Regions from separate parts of the Homo sapiens genome. Here region 2 is linked to region 1. Evidence: promoter capture Hi-C in human tissues and cell types (Jung and others, 2019). All regions are on one chromosome and are shown on one strand. Each heading gives the region's core, a stretch centred on a gene start or on the middle of the fragment in contact. The rest is flanking DNA. Distances are from core to core; before and after follow the strand shown.

What was found. The method cuts DNA at HindIII sites, captures the fragments that hold promoters and counts their contacts. A contact is called where the count stands out against the background at its distance.
Region 2: a fragment that was not itself captured here is called in contact with the fragment with the promoter of GRIK2 in region 1 in 2 of the 25 tissues and cell types used here (dorsolateral prefrontal cortex and mesendoderm cells).

The regions. Positions count from the first base shown.
Region 1 is chr6:101,391,682-101,396,675 of GRCh38, forward strand. GRIK2 (glutamate ionotropic receptor kainate type subunit 2) reads left to right here and starts at 2,027. Exons shown (of 17, transcript NM_021956.5): 1 at 2,027-2,156. The HindIII fragment of the contact is 9,322 bases long and covers 1,683-4,994 here.
Region 2 is chr6:101,796,128-101,801,121 of GRCh38, forward strand. GRIK2 (glutamate ionotropic receptor kainate type subunit 2) reads left to right here. Exons shown (of 17, transcript NM_021956.5): 8 at 3,521-3,664. Among named protein-coding and RNA genes, the nearest start is that of GRIK2, 400 kb to the left of the region's middle. The HindIII fragment of the contact is 6,851 bases long and covers 1-4,994 here.

The sequences.
Region 1 (4,994 bases), core at 777-3,276:
CTTTAGCCAGTAGACAAGTTATCTTCCTTACTCCCATGGAGGAATGGGACAGAATGGGGCATTTTTTCGGAGCCTGGCCCAAACTCGGCTGTGCCTCGAGGGCCCATTAGGCTGCAGGTCACAGCAGCTGGAGCCCAGGCGCCCAGAACCGGTCACGCGTCTGTGCTGCCCGCTCCAGGATGCACAATAGAGTCATTGACTATTTATTTACTGGGTAGAACAAGGCTGCTGTTGACTTAATTAAGGGAGCCGCCCAGCCACCCCTGGGATCTTCAAATGACTAATGGACTCTCCATTGCCACTAACTCATCTCTCCTTAACATAAGTCCCCAGTCCCCCTCCCCCCAACCCTGCCCCACCCAGGAATGCTCAGTAAGCATGTTGTGGGGAACGGGGCGCAGAGAGTCCTGGATGGTGACCAAGAGGGAAAGACTGGCGGTTTTGGCAGGACTGAATTTCTGTGTTTCAGAGCTATTCTGAGCCAGGCGCTAGCCTCAGGGTGTGGAACATGGCCCTGCTGCGCCAGGGTCCGGCGAGGGCTTAACTTTACTAGGGCTGCAGTGAAGGAGGAAGCAAAAGGGCAAGTTCTGGTCTCCAGCTCAGACAACGGGTCCCTGGGGACTCAGAGCCTCTCTAATTCCCGGACCTCGGAATTAGATAGATAGTGGAGAACCACCAGGGACTGGAACTGCTAGGGGACTGCAGAGCCGTGGAATCCCCCCTGGCCCCTTCTTTATGCAGCCCGTTTGAAATGGTCTCTTGAGCCCAGTGCGCCTGGCCTGTTCCCGCTTAGCCTCACTTAAATCTCCTCGCGAATCTGAGCTGGCCAACTTCCTCTGGGGGAAACTGCTAAACTCAGCTCCAGTTAATATTGTAGGGCTGAGGATAAAATAGCAACGGTTTTGAATAGATGTTGACTTTTCCGACCCAGAGGAGCGGAACTCAGGGATTGTTTGCAAAAGCTAATCGTTTCCACAGTGAAGCAGGGAGAGCCTGGTGCGCTCACCGCCGCCAGCCCCTCCCTGGAAGCCAAGCTGCGGGAAGACTCTGGGACTCAGTTGCCCCTCCCCATCTCTGGCCTTTAAAAGAGTCCTCCCGAGAACTTGGACCAGTGGCCGCCAAACCAGGGCTGCTTCCCAGACTCCTGTCTCCAATCTTGGAGTCTGCGACCTCAGGTTCGGCGCCCACTAGATCTCGAATCCAACTTCTTTCTGAAATGTGTTTAGGTTGAGAGTTCCGGGGCCTGGGCGGGAGTTTGGTGGGGAGAGGGGAGTCTGCTATTTAAGGCGCCATACATACACAGAGACAGCCCGCCCGACCTCCTAACACTCAGGAAAAGTCAATTTCCAAGCATCTGTTCTCAATAATGGTGGCAGGGAGCAGGGCACTGTGACTCCCAGCATCTGAGGGAATACCCGCAGCAGCGCTACCAGAGCGCATTTGCTCTATGCGCTGGAGGTCGGGGTGGGAGGGTGCGCAGATCAAGATCTTTTTTTGCGAACCTCAGGGAAATGACCGTAGTTGGACTAAGAGGTCCACTTTGGAGACTACCAGCAGCCCTCCAAGCCCTGGCAGTGGAGAAGTTTCGTTGCTATGGTTTCGGAGAGGCATAAAAGCCATCACCCAGAAGCAAATGTGTTTGGGCTCCTTATATGTGTTGTCACCACCCAAGGCTAGGCAAATTCCTCGGCGCTTTGCATGCATCACTCACTCCCTGACAGAGCATCTTGGCCTTAGTCTCCCCATCCCAGGAGGCGGGTGTGCGCTAAGGGAGCGAAGTCCAGCCGGAGGCTTCGTAACATCCAAGTCTAGGGACACCAGGAATTCTCTCGCTCTAGCTCCTGTGGTCCAGGGGTGGGAGATGCCCCCGAGTGGCCGCGGCGGCCAGGAGCGTGCAGGGGCCACGGGGAAAGGAGCGCGGCGCCTTTAAAGCAAGAGGCGAGGAACCCCCGCCAGGAGGCGTGTCTGTCTCTGCCGCCGCCGCCGCCGCTGCTGCTCCTCGGTCACCGTCTTCGCCGCTGCCGTCACTCGCGCTCGGCGCCGGCGGCTGCGCTGGTCGGTCTGGTAGCTGGGGACTTTTCCGCCCGACCTCCTCCGGCTGCTCCTCCCCGAGGACCACCCCACCCCCTCCCCGCCCACCTCACCCCTAGCTCCAGGTAAGGACTCCCCGGCTGTGGGCTGCACTCCGGGCTCCTTCACGAGGTGTTTGTTTTCAAGAGGACGGGAGGGACTGCGGGTGGGCGAGGGGCATTTTCCACCTGGAGAGAAGGAAGAAGGCGAACAGTAGCGCTGCGGACGTCCGTGCGCTCGGGGCGCCCGCTGGACGGATTCACTGCGAGTCTTTGTCGGGCTTATCTCAGCCAATTCCCGTCAAGCATGCAAGTGGCTCTGTTGGCTGCAGTCGCCTATGTTCTCCACATAAAATGATTTAAGAAGTGGACGTGTCAGGAAGTGGCCTCAGCTACGGGGACTCACGCGAGGCGAAGAGAATGAGACAGATGGCAAGAAGCTGTGTGGCTGCCGGCGGGTCTGACGAACTCCCCATCCCTCCTTCTGCCCACCCATCCTTCCATTAACCCTACTCCTTAGTTCTGCGCTGAGGAAGTATATTTATTTTAACCGGCACCCGTATTAAGAGCTTCTGAAAAAACTTGGAGGGCGTCCCATTAGGGTAAGGAGTGGGCAGTGTTACCAGGGTGGATCATAAACCTCAAGAACTTTTAACGAACCACATCCTCTGATATTTTTACCTTTAAGGAGATAGAGTTTCTTTACCAAACAACACGACCGAGCTGAGGCTCCTTAGAGAATAATTTCCAATTTAGGCAATGGGGAATATTAGAAAACTTACTATTAGTAGCCTTTTGGTAATGCACAGATTATCTTCTATCGTTTATTCATCTCCATACTGTAAGTATTCTGTCATCAGAAATTATCTTATGGATTGATGATTATTTTCATTTCACGAGAGATGATTGGTTCATTTGAGTCTTAATTAGTCAGTTTAGTTACTGAAATAAATGCAATTGTATTTCAATCTTGATTTGTCTTAGTTCATTACTTTCTAACTTTATAGAGTCTATTCCTGTAACCACCAAGGCAGCCTATCAACTTCCAGTGGCCTTAAAAACTTTTGAGTCAAACAAACAACAAAAAATTGAAATGCACAAGAGCAAGGTGATAGAGAATTGAGCAATGTTTGGAAGTCTTATCTGTTTGTTTTCTCCTATTTAAACCCATTGAAAATCACACAGGCTGAAATTTAAAAAAAAAAGTTCTGGGATATGTAAATTTATTCCACTTCAATTTGTTAATTAAGATACACTTATTTTAGTGTCTAAAAATTAATCAAAACTCTAAATGTCATTAATCATCAATGCAGCAGAATGTTGCTGGAACAGCTGATAATGTGTTCAGAATCATAAGGGATACCACAGCATGCATAGTTAAGAAGAGTGAGTTGCAAGTATGCAACAGTGTGATTTCAACTGAAACCTGACTCAGTCCTGACTTTATTCTCTGAGATCTTTAATGCCATGTATAAACAGGCTGTTTGTTTTAGCTAAATTGCTATGCAACAGGCCACTTGCATGGAATAATAGGTTAGGTGTTACTATAAGATGAGGTTTTTCAAATGTCACATAACAGCAGGACTTCCGTGACAAGTCAAGTGGAATCCTTAGTAAGAATTCCATGTGAAAAATTTAAATATAGCTATGGCATGTAAGAACCTTTGAAACATCTTTGAAATTCAGGTTGTTCTGGGGTATGTATTTGCTGTTTCCAGCAAAAGGTATAGGCATTGTCTTTTTAAATGTTGTGCTATAAAGATTATTACACATTTTCTCATACCCCAGCAGGTGGCAGCTAACTAGAATAAGATTCATTTTCACTGGCAGAATAGGAAACTAAAATTGTTTCTCAAGTAATAGTGCCCAAGAATAAGAGGTCATTAGTATCTGCAAATATAAAAATATAGTGAAAGATGAAGCTAGTGGGTTTTTTTGTTATTGTTGGAAGAAGCTTTGCATTAACATGATATGCATTTTCTTCTTTGTCAATTTATCATAGGTTTGATATTTGTGTCAGCCTTCTATGATTTTTTTGAGGTATACTTCTAAATACAGCTTCTCTCTGGGTGTGCGTGTATGTGTGTTTTTGCAGTTTGTTATCTCTGCTTTGACCTTGGAATCTACAGAGCTTTGGCTCATAGAAATAAAGAGTGCCATATGGTTAAAATGAGGAAAAAAATGAGACCATAGAATAAAATATATAAATCTTACTAAGTATATATAATTGCCTGATATCCAATAGCAGTAGTTTTCTCTTTCCTTTAAGGAAGAAGCAAATTACAGAACTGACACAATTTTTAAAAGGGTTAAATCTAGTCAGTGAAATACTGTGTAAGGAATTTATTAATCCTTCATATAACCTCAGAACTATGATGTGTGGTATCAGTATTGGGGAGAAACTTGTAATAACTTCAAAATTGCCACATGTTAAGGCATCAACTATGCCACCAAATCATTTTATTGTAGTATAGGGATGTAAATTTAGCATTCCCCCCCCCCCCAGGAAGTGAGTGAGTTTAATGTGAAAGAACAAGAATTAATCTCATTACCCTAGTAACAGATGGAAATCTGGAGGTGGAGAATTGAAAGTGATAACTAATTGTACATTTAAAAAATGTCTTTAGCCACTGAATATTGACAGCATGTTATTTGGCATTCTGAATTGTGGTCTTTCTAGCAATTTTTTTTTGTACTGACAATCAAGTAGTTTAGTGTTCATGAGGAATCTCACAATTAATATAAGTAGTTTTTTTAACAGTATGCCCTATTACAAAAAAAGATAACTACATCTTGGGCTTATCAAGCAATTGCACTGAAAAATACACACAACACAGTTGATAAAATAGTCCTCTTGATAATGTGAACAATGCAATAATTCCAATTCCTTTACTCTGTGTAGTAGAAATTTACACATTGTCACTC
Region 2 (4,994 bases), core at 745-3,244, 400 kb after region 1:
ATTAAATCCAGCTCTACGTCTATATGCTATGGTTTGTTTTTTGAGTTACTTAGCTGCTGTCTGCCTTGGTTTCCTATTTGACACATACTTGATGGGATTGCACCTGAATAATGGTTATGGAAATTAAAGGAATTAATTTAAGGAGAGTGCCTCACACACAGATATTGAATGAATGTTGGCTATTAATATTATTAATAGAAGACAGATTTTCACATATTTGTGAGAATAAGAGAAGGCACATTTTTGTGAGCATTCTTGTGAGAATAAGAGAAACCACATTTCTGAAGCACTAGAATTTTCACACGGTTTTTCAAAGGAAGGAGATTTATAGACACACAATTTTACAAAGAAGACAATAGTTTAATCTGACAAGATATTAAATATAAATAGAAAAATCTACATAATATCACCAAAACAACTAGTCTAAAATTAAAACCAAAAAGTACCCCAAACTGGAGAAAATATCATAGAAAGTATTTCAGAAGTTCTGTTTATTGATTTATAAGTAAAGATATTTTAAACTGGGAAATCCAGAAGTAGTTTGATCAGCGACTTTTAGATTACTTGTACCTTTTTCTCAAGGATTTATATTTTATTGTTACAGACAGTAGTCTCACCATTTTGCCCAGACTGGGCTCAAACTTCAGGGCTCAAGTGATCCTCTTACCTTACCCTTCCAAGTAGCTGGGCTACAGATGTGTGCCACTGTGCCCAGCTATATTTATCTTATAGTTTAATAATATTATCTAATTTTTATAATTGTACTTAAAATAACAGATTTCAAAGAGTTTTATTAGCAACTACTGTGTCCTGATCTTGAAACTGAAACTATATACCAGAAAAGATTTTTTGATTTTTAATTAGGCAAAATTATTTTCTAGCATTGTCATATTAAATAAGGTTACTACTCTAGGATTTTTATGTATGTCCTGTTAGATTATCTATATGTCAGTAAGTCATGAAAAGCAATTTTCATGAAAACTTGGAATTAGAAATATTATAGATTGTATTCTTTTAGTTATTTTTTCCATAATAGATCAACATTTTTATCTTGGCAATAACTGCTATAGTTTTTGTAATCTTCCTCATACATTACGTGTTAATCTTAAAAACTGTGGAAAATATGAAATAAAAATTTTACTCATGATTAATTCACAAGAGTTAAACATTATTATTTTATTGTGTTTTCTTGTTTTTGTTGTTTATATAGTATGTAGTGGTGGCCAAAAGCATTCCTGAACAGGGAGGGTGGGCTTCCCCACTTGTTAGCTGTGTGATTTCAATTAGTTCTTCACTTTTCCCAACCTTGGTTTTGTTATTTATAAAATGTTAACAATAGATTTTTTATTATACTATTATTCAGAGAATAAAGTAAATATATTAATTACCCATATATAAGTATACATGCATGTGTATTTTAGATATTCTATTTAATTTATAAATATATATTGCTTTATAAGGTAATACTTCATATTACTCTATAAATATATATTATCTGTACATATATTTATAAAGTAAATATATATTATGCTGTATTTCCATAATAAACCATTATATATTTTTTTTATGTATATATTACATATAATAGTTTATATTATATATAAAATAATGGTTATATATTAATAATGGTTTTATATATTATATATTATATATTACATACTATATATAATATATGAAACCATTATATATTATATATAAAACCATTATTTATACATTTATATATATAAAATGATTTATGCTGGAAATGCAGTTCTGTATAATCTAAATCTAATTTAACACAACACCATTTAAGATGTATTTAATTTCCATCTAGTTGAGTATTTTTCAAAACATGATTTTTTAGTGCTTATATAAGAAAACATCGTGAATTTATTTAGAAATTTCCCTATTTTGGTCATTCAGTAGATTTCCACTCTTTTTTTTTTTTTTTCTAAAAACAAAACAATGGATATGTAGCCTTCATTCTTAGCTCCGATTTTCTTAATGCTAATTCCAGAAAGAGGAATTACTGGGTTAAAATAAACATAAATATTTTTAAGGCTCTCTTACGTTTTGTGCTGCAAAATTACCCTTTCTGTTGACAGTTATATATTTTAAAACGCTCAAAATGTATCTTCCCAATTCTGTTGATGATTTTTGTGACTACCTGTGTAATATATGTAATATGTCCTCTGAATATTAACTCGGGTCAGAGACAAATATCAGTCAAATCCTCAGGCTCAGGATGTATGCCTCAATGAACACTACTAGTTTTCACTATGCATCCTTCAGGGTATGTGAAAATAGTCAGTAGAATTTATAAAATGAAGGTTTGGAATCTGAGTTATTTTCCCAAGAGATTTATGAACTATAAAATAATATTATTATGTTCTCTTATTGCATTGTGCTCTTTAGCCATCTTCCATTTTATGTGGTATAGCTCCTTAGGATCCATTTGGTTGAAAGCTACTGTGTATACTCATTTTGTATTGTATTGTGGCAAATGCTGTAATCTACAGGGTTCCTATTCATTTCACAGCTCACTAATTGTGTGAATGAGAAGAGGAAATATATGCTTTTATTCTAAAGCATGCCAAGCAGATGGCCAAAGTTCATTACTAGGAGCATTGTCAGTGTGGCTGTCTTTTCTAGGTAGTAAGCCTGGCATCGATCTGTCAAACACAGAGTGAGGGTCCATTTAACACAGCACTTGAAAATCACTGAGCCTCTGTTTTGTTATGACTTATAAACATTTTATTTTTTTATCATCAACCTCCAAAGTGGTTGGTCATTTGAGCAGGTGCAAACACAGTAGAATTCATATTTGTTTTACCTGAGAAGCCAAATGAACTTTTATTCATATGGAAATCTTGGGGAAAGGAAACCGTACAAGAGATTAAGCTTAGTTTCTTGAAAAGCGGGTAATACAGCTATTGAGATTCAAAACTACCATCATTTCTGAGATTGAAACTTTTGAAAATTTAAGTTGAAGAAAAAGATCAGGGTTTATATCTTTTTAAAGCTAAAAGATTAAAACAATGAAAGAATTTAAGGTTTTAAGTAAGTCTCCCTTAAAATCTTGGTTTCTTCCTATAAAAGGAAACTGTTTACTTACTTTTATATAGAATATGTAATTTATGTGACCATTAAAAATGTTAGCAATGTACTCATTGTGTGTGTGTGTGTGTGTGTGTGTGTGTATAAGTGAGACAGAGTAAGAATCAGAGATAGTGACAAAAAGGAAATAAAGCCTGTCTTCATACATGTCCTACTTCAACGGCAGTACTAGGACTATATGTAATTGGGTTATTTCAGGAAAAGGAGGGTAGGTCAAATTTTCTTATGGAGCTGATGTAGTAATTTGATCATAATGTCTTGTTTAAGAGAACGAGAGCATGTTAGAGATAACGTTTTCTTCTTTATACAAAGAAAAATGGGATATATATTTCCCTTACCTCTTCCCTCTTCCTCCTTGCAAACCATCTACCACAAGTTCTACAAGTTATATTGACTATAAATTTCCCTTTCCCTTGCTTTTCAGACTGATGCTGCTCTAATGTATGATGCTGTGCATGTGGTGTCTGTGGCCGTTCAACAGTTTCCCCAGATGACAGTCAGTTCCTTGCAGTGTAATCGACATAAACCCTGGCGCTTCGGGACCCGCTTTATGAGTCTAATTAAAGAGGTAAGTTAGGAGAAGAACATCTGCCTTGTCTCTTTTGTTGTCAAGCTGAATGAAGTGAGATTATTGTGGTTTTTCTAGCAAGTGTCCTTTTACTTTATGTTTAATTTAAATTTTCTCTCTTACTCCAAATAAGCAAAATTAACATTTTTACTAAATAATACCAAATGAAAGGTGAGGGGAAACAAAATATCTATCAAAGTATCTATGAGGGTTAGCATTTACCTTTCTGAATCTTTATTACTTTTCCTTTATGTAGAGATATAGATTAATAAAGGAATGTTTATATTTTAGGCAACAAAATATAAAATGCATTTTTAACATAAATGTCATTTGCACTACAGCAAAATTATACCTAATTTGTGAGGCTTCAAGTATAGTTATTCAGATTAATTGTTCCTAAATATGTCTAGTTATTTAAATTATATTTACAATTAACAAAAATAGAATGTATGGATTAATCAAAGTGCAAAATTTACTCCATGTTATATAATGCAACCATTCTTATGACCATATATCATTTCTGACTATGTCTGTTATAGATCAAGAATATTCATAGTGAGAAAAAGTTTTTGAAGATCATACATACATACATATATACATGCATATATATACAAATATGTATACGTATATATTTTTCCTGTCAAAAAAGAAAGTCCTTTGTTAACTTAGAATACTTTTCATAGATGAAAGTTTAACTGTGCCTTAATCTTTGCAATGAAATATCACAGGTATTATTACCATATGAAATTTTTTATTAATGGCTTAAAATAAATCATCAGTTCATCTTGTAATAAATTATTCATCATGAAAATAAAAGTGCAAATAGGATCATAATTAAGTATCTCTGAATATCCATGAATTTTCTTTGTCTAATTCTTATCAAACTCTCAGGTAGATGAATTAATAGTTTCGAAGAATATGCAGTTTATTAGTTGCCCCATATTCTAACATTTACTTCTGGTTTAAAACTGAAACTTAGTGAGCTGTAGACACAGTCCACAGGTCTGGCGAGATGAAGAATTGATTTTTCTGAACTCAGCACTAGATTATTGAAACAATGACGTGTCAAGCAGCCCTAAAAGAAGCAGTTGTATGACATTCCCCATTGTATTTATTGTAGGGTGTAATTGAGAATCTTGTCCACTAAATCACACAGTGTCCCCCTTATGAGGACCAACAGGAGAAATTTCTCTCAGGTCTCAGTGCCAGGAAAAGCTCTTTCTCCTGAGCAGCTGGTATGTCTTAAATTATAGACCCTGTATATTGTGTTTTTATCATATTTTCTTCTTTGTTTTGGTTGCTAGGAAGTTCAGAATTGAATTTGTGATAA